2 separate regions of the Homo sapiens genome follow, and region 2 is linked to region 1. The links are contacts of gene promoters, found by promoter capture Hi-C in human tissues and cell types (Jung and others, 2019). All regions are on one chromosome and are shown on one strand. The core of a region is centred on a gene start or on the middle of the fragment in contact, and the rest is flanking DNA. Distances in the headings are between cores, read along the strand shown. Region 1 holds the start of IMPG1 (interphotoreceptor matrix proteoglycan 1). Region 2 overlaps IMPG1 (interphotoreceptor matrix proteoglycan 1).

What was found. The method cuts DNA at HindIII sites, captures the fragments that hold promoters and counts their contacts. A contact is called where the count stands out against the background at its distance.
Region 2: a contact is called between a fragment that was not itself captured here and the fragment with the promoter of IMPG1 in region 1, in 2 of the 25 tissues and cell types used here (aorta and dorsolateral prefrontal cortex).

The regions. Positions count from the first base shown.
Region 1 is chr6:76,071,252-76,073,951 of GRCh38, reverse strand. IMPG1 (interphotoreceptor matrix proteoglycan 1) reads left to right here and starts at 1,290. Exons shown (of 17, transcript NM_001563.4): 1 at 1,290-1,530. The coding sequence starts at 1,464. The HindIII fragment of the contact is 12,797 bases long and covers 1-2,700 here.
Region 2 is chr6:76,005,061-76,007,760 of GRCh38, reverse strand. IMPG1 (interphotoreceptor matrix proteoglycan 1) reads left to right here. Exons shown (of 17, transcript NM_001563.4): 9 at 261-281; 10 at 2,227-2,474. Among named protein-coding and RNA genes, the nearest start is that of IMPG1, 66 kb to the left of the region's middle. The HindIII fragment of the contact is 3,967 bases long and covers 1-2,700 here.

The sequences.
Region 1 (2,700 bases), core at 41-2,540:
GCTGCTGGATCACTTGAGCCCAGAAGTTCGAGACCAGCCTGGGCAACATGGTGAAACCTCATCTTTACAAAAAATACAAAAAATTATCCAGGTGTGGTGGCATCTGCCTACAGTCCCAGATACTCAGGAGGCTAAGGTGGGAGGATCACCTGACCCCATGGAAGTTGAGGCTGAAATGAGCCAATGAGCCAAGACCACGCCATTGCACTCCAACCTGGGTGACAGAGTGAGACCCCCATCTCAAAAAAAAAAAAAAAAAAAAAAAAGGGTGTAGGCTTTTGAACCAGACTCTTTAGGTTTAAATCCTAGCTCTGCCACATATACTTTATTCTCCTCAAATTTAAAAGAGATAGTATTAACAGTGTTTATATTGTCATATTGAGGAATCTATGGATAATCTATGGACATCTCTAAGAACAATGTCTATCCACAACACAAGAGCTCCATATACAGTAGTAGTTGCAGTGTGTTTCATGACTCAGCAATATGTAGCATGTATAGTCAAAATAATATAAAATCAAATATTCAAAAACTGAAATTACAATAATACTGATGAAGAAAGATGGAAAGATGTTTACAATGAGTAGAAAGGGTATGTGTGGAAGTGAAGTTATTCTCAATATCTATTATTTGATAATACCTAAAAGTGAAAACCTCCAAAATAGTAATAGAGGCATGTTATTTAGAAGTGCAAATGAGACTACTAGAAGAATTAGGTTGATGAAGTAAAAATGGCTCCCCTTTGAAAGAAGGCATGGGTAGAAGAAAGGCACAATTTTTTCTTACAAACTTTGTAGAAAAAAAGTATTTGACCCCTTAAACACAGTGCATACAGATTTTAAACATTAAAACCAGACTTAAATCAAAAAAGCCACCTGTATGTAATTCCAAATCAAAAGCAATTTATAAAGCAGAACATAGAAGAGAATGGAGACAGTTTCGCTATCTGTGGAGACTAATACATATTGGATAACCATATACTTTCAGGGACAGAAATTAAGCTCTTTTAATGGATGTTTCTTGTACATGTCATTTTAGAAAACATCTGACCCTAACTGTCAGCCTTATTCTCTGTTTGGCAGAACTTCCCCTGGCTCTCTGTGTCACTGTAACAGGTGAATAACTAAGAAAAAACTGTGTCTGTAGACACTTGTTTATAATGGCATTCAGGGTCCTGGAGCTAGGCTGACAGATGCTCCTCCAGAAGGTTAATGAGATAAAGGTTCCTCCAGCTGGCCCTTAAGCAGAGATTACACCTGAGGGAAAGACAAGCAGATTATTCCAGAAACAGACACTGCTACATGTTCTTCATAAATTAACACCCTCATAAAGGTAAACCAAGAAGGTTATCCTCAATCATCTGGTATCAATATATAATTATTTTTCACATTTCTGTTACTTTTTAATGAGATTTGAGGTTGTTCTGTGATTGTTATCAGAATTACCAATGCACAAAAGCCAGAATGTATTTGGAAACTAGAAGAGCTATTTTTGTTTTTTGGATTTTTCTCCAAGTTCAAGGAACCAAAGGTAAGTTACTTAAATGTTTACTTTTAAATTGCTTATCTATAAAATCTACCGATAGAAGTGAATATTTAGAACCAACAAGGCTACCAATTGATCTCACGGGCTAGTATATAGTAGGCCTTGAATAAATATTGCTTGATTGATTGAATAATTAACTATCAGAAATGATTTTCACTTGATTTAATATTTACTACATGGTCTTAAGTGCAGTGAAGATTAACAAAATAGGAGAGATGAATGCATCCTATTTGCTGTTCTAAAACATTCATTGAAAATTCTTATTATTAATGTAAATAATATTAGTAGATCTGTGAAACTAACTCCATTTATCCACCGAAATTCAACAAATAAAACCTAAAGATAAAAGTAATGTTTTAAGTCATTTATGGTCAGACAAAAAAAAGTAAGTATTTCTTACCTTCTCACAATGAAATCATGAGTTGCTTTCCCTTAGAAAATAGCAAACATTCTTCATCTTCAGGGTTCATGATGACAACCACTTCAAAATTTGGTTGTTTTTGAAGTTGTACGCATAAAAGAACTAGGCAATGTATGTTCTTATGGCAAATCTGCATCTGAATATGAAATTAAAATAAGCCACAAACAGGATGTTTTAAGAAAAATAATGTGTGTTTTAAAAAAGAAACACACATGTTGGAGAAAGTTTGACTTTTTTATATAAGGATAAGCCTACCTATCATAATATACTCAATCTTTTTAAGACATTTGAAGTCAATAAGGTTAAGAATTTCTTTAAGAATGACATAGCTTCATGATGATAAACATTTTAACTAAAGTATTGGTTTGGAATATCCATGAAAAAGTAAAATTAATAGTCATTGCATGTGTAAGTCACAAAATAACTGTGATTCCATCAGTCATGTTATATGAAACTTCTCAGTGATTGCATTTGGAGGGAGAAAAAAATTTCTGGAAAAGATTTCTTCATGTTTTCACAATAGTGAAAGAAGCAAAATTTATTTACTTTTTCATTAAATTATCAATTATATATAAATATTTACATTTATAAAATCATTTTAATTAGAAATAAATAATGAGATTTTGGTATATTCTGAACTGAATCTGATGAAGTAAACCAATTTGACTATTTCGTAGACTTGATCAAGCAATTCAGCTGTGTTAAATTTTTTGTTACATTAATTCTGTTAATTT
Region 2 (2,700 bases), core at 66-2,565, 66 kb after region 1:
ATAATCTTTGAACTAAGGCTCAAATCCTAATCAGAAACATATAATGATGTTTACTTCTTAGATTCATATCTCTCTCAAAGTTTCCATTCAAATTCTGATGGCAGTTTATATGAATCTTTCAAAGCTCTGAACAAACAAAAGAGACAATGGAAAGAAATATTTTTTTCTTTTGTATATAAAATAATTCATTGAATGTCTCAATAAATGTCATTAAATTTTTTTCTCTTTTTCATGTTTCCATTGTGCATGATGAAATGAAGACCAAAGAAAGAAAAAGATGGGTAATTTGGACTTTAAGTTTTGAAATATAGTACATTCCCGTCTCCCCCAAATTTATATACTGATTTTGCACAAATAATTTTTACATATAATGTCTTGGATAAGCCCATTACTTTTTGATGGTTTCTTATTTAAATGGAAGTAATTGAACAATTGTCCAGTAGTTAAAAAAAAAAAAATTCTCTTATCAAAGTCACTATGTGGGATACAGGTAAATATTTCCTTGGTCAGCTGAACAGGATTTTATCATACTCAAGGTATAGTTAGAAAAACATAAAAACACTATCTGTGCTGCAAGCATAATTTATTTCTTAAATGCCATTTGTAATGGGCAGTTGTCTATCTGAAAGCACACACATACATGGAATCAACCTAAGTCTGGAATAAAGCAGAGAAACTAATTTGCTCCTTTCCAAGGTCAATGTGAACTGAGAAAAGGGCCCACTATACCTTGGAGAGCTCAGTAATAAGAATCAACTTTGGCTCTGTAATTGACTAGTGAAATAACAAACGATAGACTCTAAATGATTGTGTCATCTGAAAAACCACCAAGAATACACGTGATCAGTTTCTGTGGCCTTTAAAACACTTCTACATCACTCTGTCTAGATTTATGACATGAACTAAAGGTAAAACCTAATTCCTGAGGACAGAGACATAGAGAATCCTGTTTCATTTTTGCATGCAAAAAAGCTTTGAGTTAATGAATAGGATAATAAATACAGTTACCTATGTCCTGCTTATTTTTCTCTTTTCTCACACCTTCCTTCTAAGATGTTATTTTAAAAGCAGCTTGAGGGAAAAGAGTATTATGTATCATTTAAAGTTGTATTTTTTTAATTAAAAAATACTTATTTTAAAAAAGTAGAAAAGAAATAGCCTTAAGAACTGAACCTTTGACTTGGTTACAACACATATGTATATATATATATACACATACACACACACACACGTATATATACCCATATGTATATAGGTGTATATATATGTGTGTATATATACACCTATATACATATGTATATACACACATACCCATATATGGGTATATGGATGGGTAATTTGGACTTTTTTTACATATATATACTATATATATATATTTTACATATATGTGTATATGCATAATAGTATATATATATTGTGTGCATATATATAATATACATATATATATATACTATTGTCCTACTGCTATATCTTACATTGCTATTTCATAGACCTTCCTAAAGGAGGCTATTTGTAGAAGAAAGGATAATTCATCCTTCTTCCTGATTGGCACGGCATGACTTATAAGATCACAAAAAATAGTGGTCAATACCAGCAACTTTTTTGACAAAAAGCACTTTTTCAAAAAGACCTAGGTGGGCACAGTGGCTCAGGCCTGTAACCTCAGCACTTTGGGAGGCCACAGCAGGCAGATCGCTTGAGCCATGAGTTTGAAACCAGTCTGGGCAACACAGCAAGACTCTGTCTCTACAAAAAAATTTAAAATTAGCCCACTTCCTTCCTGTGTTCCCAGCTATGCTGGGGGATAAGGCAGAAGGATCACCTGGGCCCCAGGACTTCAAGGCTACAGTGAGCCATGACCATGCCAATGCACTCCAGCCTGGGTAACAGAGTGAGACCCTGTCGCAAAAAAAAAATAAAAGAAAGAAAGAAAAAAAAAAACCTAAAGTAAAAATCTATGGTCACTTGATTCAGTTAGTAATCCTTCTTTGAGGTGGACTGACCTCCCTCCTGCCATTCTATTTTAGAACTAAAAGATATATTTATTCTTTTTTCATATTTTAAGTTTCTGATAAATGTTGAAATGTTTTAAAGTGGGATATTCTCTCCGAGCCCATCAGGAAAGAGGTGGAAGCTATCCTGAAGCTTTGTAGCAATCTAGTGATTCTCTTTGCAAGGCATGTAACAATGGCTTTGGGTGGGGAATGTGTCCTCTGCTATCTACAGCTCAAGCTCCACAGAGATGCAACTTACGGCCATCTTTAAGAGACACAGTGCAGAAGCAAAAAGCCCTGCAAGTGACCTCCTGTCTTTTGATTCCAACAAAATTGAAAGTGAGGAAGTCTATCATGGAACCATGGAGGAGGACAAGCAACCAGAAATCTATCTCACAGCTACAGACCTCAAAAGGCTGATCAGCAAAGCACTAGAGGAAGAACAATCTTTGGATGTGGGGACAATTCAGTTCACTGATGGTCAGTTAATGATTGCTTAGTTCTGAGTTTATTCTCATTTTGGCAGAGACTAAGAATGTGAATGTCTCATGGAAACTGTCATTTTAACTTGGGTCTTCTAAAGTCGATCATTACTGTGACAGGAATACATATGGTATCATTTCTAGCTTTTCTCACTCCTTCCTGTGTCTCATTTGATGAGTCTTTGGTACCCACTTCTTACCAAGGATAGTTCTAGGAGAATCCA